2 separate regions of the Homo sapiens genome follow, and region 1 is linked to region 2. Evidence: promoter capture Hi-C in human tissues and cell types (Jung and others, 2019). All regions are on one chromosome and are shown on one strand. The core of a region is centred on a gene start or on the middle of the fragment in contact, and the rest is flanking DNA. Distances in the headings are between cores, read along the strand shown.

Region 1 (5,924 bases), core at 88-2,587, 41 kb before region 2:
AGGTATGTATTGTAAAATAATTACCACAATCAAGTTAATTAACATATCCATCCCTCAAATCACATAGTTTCCCTTTTTAATTTTTGTTTTTTTTGGTGAGAACTCTTAAGATAAACTCTCTCTTAGCTAATTCCAAGTATATAATACAACATTATTAACTGTTGTCACCATGCTGCACATTAGATCCCCAGATCTTATTTTTTTTTAACTTTAAGTTCTGGATACATGTGCAGAACGTGCAGGTTTGTTACATAGGTATACATGTGCCATGGTGGTTTGCTGCACCTATTAACCTGTCATTTAAGTTTTAAGCCCTGCATGCATTTGGTATTTGTCCTAATGTTCTCCCCTTGCCCACCACCCCCGAACAGGCCCCGGTTTGTGATGTTCCCCTCCCTGTGTCCATGTGTTCTCATTGTTCAACTCTCACTTATGAGTTAGACCATACGCTGTTTGGTTTTCTGTTCCTATGTTAGTTTGCTGAGGATGATGGTTTCCAGCTTCATCCATGTCCCTGCAAAGGACATGAACTCATTCTTTTTTATGGTTGCATAGTATTCCATGGTGTATATGAGACACATTTTCTTTATCCAGTCTATCATTGATGGGCATTCGGGTTGGTTCCAAGTCTTTGCTATTGTAAATAGTGCTACAATAAACATATGTGTGCATGTGTCTTTATAGTAAAATGATTTCTAATCCTTTGGGTATATACCCAGTAATGGGATTGCTGGGTTAAATGGTATTTCTGGTTCTAGATCCTTGAGGAATCACCACACTGTCTTCCGCAATGGTTGAACTAATTTACACTCCCACCAACAGTGTAAAAGCATTCCTGTTTCTCCACATCCTCTCCAGCAACTATTGTTTCCTTCTTTCTTTTCAAAAGGTCCCTCTTGTGGTCACTCTGTTTGGTATTGCTACTTCTCTGGCTAATACCAGTGGGTCCTCAGTGGCCCCTGAAGGTCAGCCATCCAAATGCTGTCCTCTCTTGACCCAGTGAGGCCTCCCCCTGTGCAAGTTTCCTGACACAGGTGGTCCTCCCTTCAGAAAATGCCTCAGGGGCCCCTTAACCTAAAGGCCACTCAAGCCTTGCCACCTTCTCTGGTGCCTACTGAACTGTGGGAAAATGTCATGTCTTCACTGAGCCAGAAGCGGGGTACATCTTTCAGCACCCTTCTCTCATCTCTACTGTCTCTCTGCTCCCCCCTCTCCTCTTCTCCAGGCTCCAGCAGGGTTAGAAGCTCTGTGGATCCAAAGACTCAGCAAATTTCAGAGAGAGAGAATCAGCAGGCTCCAATGTGGCTGGGGTAGGGATGGCCATGTTCTGCTGGGTCCTCTTCCGTCGGTCACCTCTAATGTGAGGTGGCCCCATCTAACTCTCCAGCCCCAGCTCCTCTGGTCCTGCCTACACAGGTGACACTTGTCCTGGTGACAGCAAAGTGCATATATTTTCTGTGCACCATGTTGTTCCACATATCCGAGTGCTTGTGCCTTTCTCCCCTACCCTGAACACCTGGAAAATGATCCTCTTTTGAGATCATATCAGACTCATCCTCTCCCACTCAGACAGAGCTAAGCATCTCTTTCCTCTGCTCCAATCCCACCCTGTGAACATACATGCTCCTAGTATGTGTCCCATCACAGTAAAACAGCACCTTTAAGTATCTAGTTCTCTCCCGTACCAAACTATGCATTCCTTGCAGACAGGAATTGGCCTTTTGATTTACATAATTTGTGCCTATGACAATTTCTGATTCTTACAAAGCAGTCAATAAGTGCTTGTTGATCAAACTAAAAAGAAGAAGGGAAAACAGACTAAATTTCTCATCTTTTACAATGAGGGGATATGTACCGCGGACACTTCAATGTTTGGGGTACAGCACCTGACACCTTCCTAGGTTCAAGGAATCAGCCACTGTGCGAGTCTTGGTGGAATGTGGGGCCAGCCTTTTAATCCCAGCACTTTGGGAGGCTGAGGCGGGCAGATCACGAGGTCAGGAGTTCGAGACCAGCCTGACCGACATGGAGAAACCCCGTCTGTACTAAAAATACAAAACTAGCTGGGCATGGTGGCACATGCCTGTAATCCCAGTTACTCAGGAGGCTGAGGCAGAAGAATCGCTTGAACCTCGGAGGCGGAGGTTGCAGTGAGCCAAGATCGTGCCACTGCACTCCAGCCTGGGTGACAGAGCGAGACTCCATCTCAAAAAAAAAAAAAAAAAAAAAAAACAACTAGAGCCCAGGTGGATGGCCTAAATTCAGCTACTAGGAAGCCCTGCCCAGGGTCTGAACCTAGAGGAAGGGAGGTGAGGAGAAGAGGCCTGTGCCCTGGGGCTGTGGGACTGGCAGCAGCAGGACTCTAAACAGCCTGCTCCACCTGCCCACTCCCCCAGCCTGGCTCTCCAGGCCTCCCACCAACTCTATGATCCACCAAGTATCCTTTCACTGAAATCATCTTCTATTCAGATTGGCGGAAGGCTTCTCTTTTTTGCCAGCAAGAGCCCCCTGACTAGGATATCCGGTACATGGGTTGACAGATACTGATTCATGCTTGACCCTGAAAAAGGTATGGAAGTATATACTTAACCTAAAGATATACATAATCTAAATATATATTTATTTATGTATACTTCAACTAAAAATAATTGTAGAATAAAATAGAATACAAAACTTGCAAATTACTTTAAAAAATCAGTATGACAAAAGATTAAAAAGAAAAGTAGAAATGCACATAAACATAAGAATAAAGAAGTTAGATCAATATCATTTCTAATAAATGTGACTGGGCTACTCTCTCCATTTGAAACAGAAGGGTTCTCAGAATTCAAAAGGCAAACTTCAAAACTATATGGTAGATTCTTGGATTGGCTTTCCTAAGATGGAATGGCTTTTCCATTCCATCCTCCTACTTGGAGGGGTTGTAAAACTAAAAATTACCTTTTTCAAAGGCCTTCCAAATGACGGTGCTAGGTGCAAATTAGGTTGGGCCAATAAGATGCATTCAAGGGAGATTTAGCAGGTGGAGGTGAAGTGGAGGCCACCTTGCTGCTGCTGGTTGACAGGAAACAGGTTTGGACAAACAAGACTATTGGTAGCAGCCAGACCTGTGTTCCAGTGCCTGGTCACCAGCTTCATGGGCTAAGAGGCAGTTGTGCTGGCAGCAGCAGCAGTAACTTCTCGACCCACGGCAGCAGATGTGGTGCTGTGAGTCCAGTGGGGGCTGCCAACCTCTTCATTCCTTCAGCCTAGCCTAATGCTTCTGTAAGCACCTAATTCCTTATATTAAATCCCTTTTCACTTAAAACACATAAGGGGTTTTCTGTTTCCTCCACAGAAATCTGAGTCATATACAGTGTTTACAAATGGCAGGCCTAAAATAAAGTGACCCACAAAGCTCCTCTTTAAAAGGATGTACAAAAATATAGGACATAAATGAAAATAAGACAAAGCAACAACTGAAGTAGGAATGACAATGTTAATAGTGAACAAAGAATTCAAGAAAAAAACATATGGAATATTATATCAATACAAGATGCAATTCACAAAGGAGATAAGCTCATCAGTGTTTATGTCCTGAATAAGATAGCAGCTAAATATTAAAAATTAGATCTTAAAACTCAAGCAGAAATGGATAAGACTATAATCTTAGTGATAACATTTATCATTTCTTATCATCATGGACCATGATGCATTAAATTGACACATAAAGGAATTAAATAATCAATAAGCTTTTCAACATTTATAGTTCACAAGTACCTAATTAATATTGCTTTTAAATGGCCAGTTTGTAAACTGAGGTAACATATTAGGCCATAAAGAAATGTCAATAAATTCTTAAAAATGTAAACTCTCTTTGACCATAATCATAACACAAATAATTAGTGAGAAAAATATTAAATAGTAGAATTAAAATAGCAAGAAATTAAGCAACACTCTTCTAAATAACTCTTGAGTAAGAAAGGAAATAAAACATATAATTAAATACTGTTCTGAAAATAGCAACAATAAAACACCAGTTTCAAAACTTTTGGCAGATGACAAAGCCATAGTCAGAAAGAAAATCATATTCTAAAATGCTATTATTATTTTTAAAAGAAATAATGAAAATAAATGAATTGTTTATCTCAATAGGAAAGTTTTTAAATGTAAAATAAAGCTGTTAAAAAGTATTCATATAATGAAAGCAGAAATTGATAAGTTGAAAAACAGAAAAGTGTCATTAATAATTCAATCCAGGCTGGTTTTTATGAAAAGAAAAAAAAAACTTCAAAACAAAAACAGCTAGGCACAGTGGCTCACGCCTGTAATCCCAGCACTTTGGGAGGCTGAGGTGGATCACTTGAGGCCAGGAGTTCGAGGCCAGGCTGGCCAACATGGCAAAACCCCGTCTCTATTAAAAATAAAAAAATTAGCCAAGCATGGTGGCATACACCAGCAATCCCAGCTGCTAGGGAGGCTGAGATAGGAGAATTGCTTGAACCTGGCAAGCAGAGGTTGCAGTGAGCCAAGATCATGCCACTGCACTTCAGCCTAGGAGACAGAGTGAGACTCTTTCTAAAAAAAAAAAAAAAAACAAATAACACTAATTTAGACAACCCTTTAAAAACGTAGTGAAAGAGAGGGAGGGAGAGAGAAAATCATGCTAGCATATTTGAAGATCTTAATGAAATGAAATGATTTTCAAAGGAACATGTAAGTTACCAAAATGAACTCAATAGGAGATAGAAAGCCTGATTACATTACTAATTCTGATTTTGTTTTTTTTTGTTTGTTTGGGATGGAGTCTCACTCTGTTGCCCAGGCTGGAGTACAGTGGCGCGATCTCAGCCCACTGCAACCTCTGCCTCCCGGGTTCAAGGGATTCTCCTGCGTCAGAGCTCCTGAGTAGCTGGGACTACAGGTGCGCACAACCACACCCGGCTAATTTTTATACTTTTAGTGGAGACAGGGTTTCACCGTGTTGGCCAGGCTGGTCTCGAACTCCTGACCTCAAGTGATCTGCAGACCTCAGATATTTTAAAAGTTGTAAAAGAAAACTCCTAATCACAGTGTTTAGTTCCAGAGGACTAAAGGTAGTGCCCAAACTGTGGATACCCGAGCTGTGGGTACTGTAATTAGTCCTCTGGGCCTCAGCTCTTATTTCACTCACAACTATGGCTACCAGCTCTGCTCTGGCTTTGAACAACCTCCAGCAGGTGCAATCCAACAGCACTTTGTTTCACCCTGCCCCAGGCCTTCTCTGACACTCCTCAGTGCAGGATGTAGTGGCACCCTGCCTGCTCAACCAAGATGAGAAATATTTAATGTCGTTTGGGGCAACCTTCAACCAGGAATTGGGAGAAACAGGGAGCCAGTGGATAAATGCTTTCCCCTCTCTTTTCCCAGGAGCAAGGCCTTGAGCCACATGTCATAACACATCTCAGATTGTCCATTGGGATTGAGCACCCTGTAGCAGTTGTTCAACTTGATAACACATCCTTGTTGTGATTTTCCCTCTTTCCCTGTTTATTTCTTTTATTCTTCTCTTGCTCCTGTCCTAACCCCTAGATCCACACTCCCAAATGAACATTCATACCTAAGCTTTGGTCTCAGACTCTGCTTTAAGGGGAACTCAGGCTATGACAGTTGGTAGTAAGAGCAGTCCTAGAAAGTGGACCTTCAGGGTGGGACTTTAGATGGGCCACTCTTGGGTCAGATGGCCATCGGTCTCCATAACTGGCGGTAAGTAGGGTGACAAGAACTCCTAACATGCATTGACATCAAAATTACTAGAAGTCTTACCTGGGGTTGACTGGGATGAGGCACAGCTGGGAGGGAATGTGTTGGGTTAAGTGGTAGGGGTAGCGTTTGGACAGTTGGATGGCAATAGCAGTTACAAGGATTATGGAGTTGTCCAGCTTTTGTTAACTGCATTGAAAGTC
Region 2 (5,908 bases), core at 145-2,644:
GTGGACCAAGGAAAAGATTTACCCTAAAAGAACAAAGTATGCTCCGACAAATCTATTGAAAGGAATGATTTACACTGGTGCTTCCTGCCCAAATGTTGAGACCAATGGCCTGGTGCTTCCTTCTTGAAACTAGGTTGCTCTACTTACATGAAACAAACTGGGCAGAGGTCAACCGTGAGAGCCTGAGCCTCCCCAAGTAAACAGCAAAAGATTCCCCAGGCCCAACAGCCCCCACCCCCACCTTCAAGGAAAGTGGATCTACCCGGAGCACGTAGGCCAGAGGAGGCAGGAGAAGAGGGTCAGTCCGTGAGCTCCGGGTACCTGGAGAACATGAATCTCCCGGGTGTACTGTCCCCATGAGGGTCACCGAGGAACCTATGGATCTTCCACTCTTCGCCCAGAATGTCTTCCCTCTATCCCCTCCACCTCCCCAAATTCCAGCACCAGGGGCCACCTCAGAGCCACAAATCCTGAAAGGACCACCCAGGTGACTCGGGCCCACACACCCCTCTTTCGGGGTACACTTGGTGGCAGGCTAGCAGGCTTTTGGCCTCAGCTGGTGGTGCCATATAACCAGATTCGTCACAGAGACCCATTTTTTATCAGTCCCAGGCCAGAAGTACGAAGACTGATCTTAACGATGTGGCCTGCCTGGGAGGTAAGGCGGCAGGCGTTGCCAGAATTGATGGGAACTGTGGCACAGGTGGGAAACCTGGTTTAACAAATTCTTCATTGATTCAGGGGACCACTTTCCTTGAGCCAAGTCTTGGCAAGCGGCCGGCGAAACTCACAGGTCCCTTTCCTGGCTGCGTCCCCAGCCTCCAGCCTTCCCCGCCCCAGAGATGCCCCAGGAGCGGCCCCTCGGTGTAGGTAACGGGTGCCCGGGCGGCTCCGCTCCGCCGCCTAGAGCCTGGAAGCCGCCACTGCGGCCCAGGACAATCCGGCTACGCGGCCGGCGCCGACCCCGCACGCTGGAGTCCGCTGCCGCACGGCGCTGGCAGTCGGGGGTGGTGTCTGAAGTCAGGCGCTTCCTGCCTTTTCGTCGGCCCGGGTGCCCGGCTCGCGCCGCCAGGCTCTGGGATCCCAGGTCGCCCCGCCCAGCAGCCCGCGCCCTGCTCGGTGCGCTCAGCGTCCCCGCCCCTTACCCCAAACCCCCACCCTCTGTGCCCTCAGGGGGGCACCCCCATCGGGGCGGGAGGGGGGGGTCAGCTGTGCCCCGGTCGCCGAGTGGCGAGGAGGTGACGGTAGCCGCCTTCCTATTTCCGCCCGGCGGGCAGCGCTGCGGGGCGAGTGCCAGCAGAGAGGCGCTCGGTCCTCCCTCCGCCCTCCCGCGCCGGGGGCAGGCCCTGCCTAGTCTGCGTCTTTTTCCCCCGCACCGCGGCGCCGCTCCGCCACTCGGGCACCGCAGGTAGGGCAGGAGGCTGGAGAGCCTGCTGCCCGCCCGCCCGTAAAATGGTCCCCTCGGCTGGACAGCTCGCCCTGTTCGCTCTGGGTACGTACGCCGGCTGCGGCGCCCCCTGCGCCGCGCGACACCCTGCTTCCCCCGGTCCCCGCCGAGTTCCCCTTTCCGGGGGTTTCTGCGCCCGCCTGGGAGAGTGGAGAGAAGCGAGTAGTCTCAATGGGTTGGCGCCTGGGAGGCAAGGGGAGTCATTAAGAATGACAAAGAGGGGACTGTCCGGTCGAGCGCCGAGGCTTCCCCGGGAAAGTGGCTGCCTGGGCCGTGCGTGAGAACACCTGGGAAGGGGAAGCGGAGTGTGAACGGGCTTGAACTTTAATCCGCCGCAGCTGTGTGTCTGCTCAGACACATGCCTACACCTACCTGCTTACCTGGCTGCCTCCAAGCCCGGCTCAGCCGGCGTCGCTGGCGTGTAGACTGGGCCGCCTCGGAACGGGGGCCGGCGTCTAACCCTCTGGCCGGGTCTTGCCTGCGCCCCTTTGGCACCCCCTGCCCACCTCTAAGCCCCAGCGACGAGCAGAGATGTTCAAGATCGGCAGAGGCGCCCTCGATCTCTTTTCAGAGCTCTTGAGCTTTGGGGGTAGGTTTTGGATTTTTGGGCGGATTAATGGTTCCTTTAATTAACTTCCCTGGGAGAAGTGGTTTCGGTGTCCGCCGAGGGCAGGAGCGAAACCCTAGACCGAGTGTTGCCAGTTTCCTTTGAGTATGTCCTTGGAAATGAAGGAGGGATGGGAAAGGTGAGGGGAAGTTAAACCCCTCTCCCGGGTCGGGTCTGCGGAGCGGTGCGTTTTTTGGCGGTGAAGTTCAAGGGTCTGTCTGGACGCGGTGAGGGCGCAGCGCCGCGCGCCTCCTGGCCAATTCTTGCCCCTTGTGCTGGTGGGTCTCTCTGGTGTTGAGATAGCTGATCAATAGCGCAGGTGTCCTGGTTATTGCTAGTCTTCCGTGAAGTGAATTGTTCGTTCGATATGCCCCGAGTTTAACCCGTATAGCATGCGGCTCGCTGCAGGGTGGTTAGAGTCTGTGGAAAGCCATGGAACTCCTCCCCAGAAATGCCCAGAGCCGCAGCCTCACCCAGCTCCGTGTACAACTACAGGGGGTTCGCGGCCCCGCCTGCAAGCCTGCCCTAGAAACGCTGATTAAAAACCGCAGCAGAAGGGGAGGCATCCTGTAAGAGAAATACAAGGCAGTCTTGGAACCGGATGCTCCCAGCTACACCCTTACCTGAAACTCACCAGCAGGTAACATGGGTATGGGAGGCTTTTCCCCCACATTTTTGAAGAATTGCCTTTTTTGTGTGCATGTATTGACTGTTGCTCTGATTTAAATTTTAGAAAAAGCAATAAAACATTACCAATACAAGGGAAGCTTCCTGGATATAATTATCCCTTGTAATGTTTTTGCAAATAATAGTAGTAAGTAGTAGTAGTAATAACAGCTGATGCTATTCGAGCATTTTACTCTGTGTCAGACACAGTCCAAGTGCTTTACATTTATTCATGCAGTTTTCACACCAACCGGATAAAGAAGGTGTTAATATTATTCTCATTATATAGCAGAGGAAAGTAAAGCACACAGGGTCCACAGTAAGTAACTGGACCAGGATTGTCGAAGAACGTGGAAGGAATGTGAATATGAAAAGTCACCTAACTTGTGGTCATTATAGTCCCATCTCTCTTTTGGGACTTTGCCTTAAAGAGAGATTATGTGGAATACCCTGGAACTTGTTGTTAAATTGAGTTTCCTATTGAATTCCTGGGATCTCAAGGTGGTTATTCGGTAAAAATTAGAGGCAGGAAATGATGAAGATAAGCACATTTGAGTAAGTGTTTGAAAGCTGTCCCTACACCCCACACTCCCATCCCAGAATTCTCGCCCACAAAGACTGCATTCATTCATCATGTAATTTTTCTCTTTTGCCTGAATGTTCTTTTCAGCTTGATCTTTGTTTCCTTCTTTAAGAAAATGATGTATAAACTTTAAAAGATTGATCAATATGTAAAAACTTGCTCACACAGTTCCAAAATGTGAGCAGTTGAAAAAAGTGGAGAAAAAAAAAAGGCAGGAGTAATTTACACCAGTGAGGACTCCTTTTTATTTATATGTCTTTAAAAGAAAAATCACAGCTGTGAGTTCTGTGCGTTTACTAGAACTGCTGCCTCCCACATATAGCTTTACTTTGCACATTTCCTTCAAAGCTGCTTTCCCCTCTGATTTTTCTTAAATAGTTGAAGGCAGTTCCAGGAGAATCAACCAGTGTTCCATCGCTACCCGAGATCTAGGAAACCTCCGTGGGGCTAGTCTGAGAAGGAACTGGCTGTTAGGAGTCTCGGTTAATGTTTGATTACTTGGAACCTGAGCATTGATTAATGTTTTCAGTAAGAGAATGTGAAGACTGTTGCCCAAATGGCAACACTGGAAACATAACCCAGGTTCCTGTGGTGGCTGCCCTCCCATGTCAGGTTTCCATCACTGGCAGGCAGACCGCACGGGGGCTTGGCATTTCCAGTTACATTTCCTCCTCTGTGTTCACGGAGCAAGATGTGTGATCTTGGGCAAGTTACTTAGCTTTTCTATGCCTTGTTTTTCTCACCTGCAAAATGGGGATATTAATAGGGTTGTTGAATATATTTAATGTATGCAGAAGGGTGCCTGGTATGTAGTAAGATCTTAATCTTATCATCATCATCATTGTTGTTGTTACTTTGGGCCCCATAGAATTCCAGACATCATTGCAGGTTATGTGAGTTGTATAACTGGGAGAGTTTGTAGGTTTTCGTTTATCTCATCTCCATGCTCTTTACCATTCCTTCGAAAAATATCACCCAACCTAAAAACCTACCTAGGTAATTTCTGGTGAATATGATTTGGCCAATGACAAATTCAAGCAAATCTGGAGGGTTTTTTTGTTTTGTTTTCTTTTGTTTTTTTGGTTTTTTGTTTTTTGAGACGGAGTCTCGCTCTGTCTCCCAGGCTGGAGTGCAGTGGCGCGATCTCGGCTCACTGCAAGCTCCGCCTCCCGGGTTCACGCCATTCTGCCTCAGCCTCCCGATTAGCTGGGACTACAGGCGCCCGCCACCACGCCCGGCTAATTTTTTAAATATATTTTTAGTAGAGACGGGGTTTCACCGTGTTAGCCAGGATGGTCTGCATCTCCTGACCGCGTGATCCACCCACCTCAGCCTCCCAAAGGGCTGGGATTACAGGCGTGAGCCACCGTGCCCGGCCCTGGAGGTTCTTTTAGACATCATGAATTCTTTAATTCTTTTTAATTTAATCTTTTTTAATTTTAATTATTTAATTATTTAATTTTTTATGCAAATTTTTTGTATCTCCTTTAGTATTCAACGATCAGTTGTTTATGGAAGTTAGCACTAAGTTCCAGTTTTGTCATCTGTAAAGTGGGAATAATAAAACTGTGCCCACCTCACAGGCTGTTGTAAGACTCAAATGAGATGGTAAATATGGAAGCTATTTATAAAAAAAAATAAGGACTGCACACAAAATGCAACTGATCTTATGATACAAAAATGGATTTTATAATCCAGAGATAAGCTTTATTATTTTTATGGCAACTCCCGTAAGTAAGGACCGAATGTGGACCTAAAGAATGATGTCATAGGAAATGAAGTAGCATTAAGGATGGGCAGAGGCGAAATAGATCACCTTCCCTGTTTAAGTCAGGACTGAGGGACCAGTACGGGAACTGAAAGAAGACGTTTCTTTTCTCTATTACCTGGACGTGATGTCTTTCAGAGTAGACAGTGGAGGTTTTCCTAGGACACATGTTTTCCGTATTGGGCAGCCATAATTAGGGAGTGTTCACTTAGAACATGGGCTGTAAAGCTGTATATGGAAGCCTTAGAGGCTGAGTTTTCCATATTTGCTTTTCCAGATTTTGGGTTCCTCAGGATAAAGTGATCTTTCTATAAATACTCAATGTCCCCTGCAAAGGGGACTTTTCTTATAGGAATAAGTGATGCTTCTTGTTACTGTTACTGTGGCAACATATGAAAAATAGATGACTTTTCCATTAGGCCTAAGGACCTTTTCAAAGTGTGTCTTGAACAAGGTCCTACTCTTTGCACTGCCCTCTAAAAGGGATGGGCAACGGGAAGAGGAGGTTTGGTTAATGGAAATGAAAATGGCTTGTACACACTGAATTAGGCATCTTGTGCTTGGTGTCACACTCAAAACCTCTGTAGTATCCTCTACAGCAGGCCTTACATTGGAATGATCTGGAGGGCTGGTTAAAATGGATGGCCAGGCCTCCTCCACTGCGGTTGTGATTCAGTAGGTGGGAGGTTTGCCTGGCTGACAAGTTCCCAGGTGTGGCGTATGTTGCTGATGGGGAAAGGGCAGAAGGGACCCTTGGAGAACCACTGCTTTTCAGTCAGTTGCTGTTAGGGAAACTTTTGGCTTAACCAATTGCATGTTACCTAAAGTACGTTCAGA

Evidence for each region. The method cuts DNA at HindIII sites, captures the fragments that hold promoters and counts their contacts. A contact is called where the count stands out against the background at its distance.
Region 1: a fragment that was not itself captured here is called in contact with the fragment with the promoter of TGFA in region 2 in 1 of the 25 tissues and cell types used here (hippocampus).

The regions. Positions count from the first base shown.
Region 1 is chr2:70,590,173-70,596,096 of GRCh38, reverse strand. No RefSeq gene overlaps it. Among named protein-coding and RNA genes, the nearest start is that of TGFA, 39 kb to the right of the region's middle. The HindIII fragment of the contact is 6,641 bases long and covers 1-4,657 here.
Region 2 is chr2:70,549,312-70,555,219 of GRCh38, reverse strand. TGFA (transforming growth factor alpha) reads left to right here and starts at 1,394. Exons shown (of 6, transcript NM_003236.4): 1 at 1,394-1,492. The coding sequence starts at 1,453. It overlaps LOC124907824 (a long non-coding RNA gene), which reads right to left and starts at 2,512. Exons shown (of 2, transcript XR_007086906.1): 1 at 1,828-2,512. RefSeq lists a silencer at 1,264-1,333. The HindIII fragment of the contact is 16,400 bases long and covers 1-3,915 here.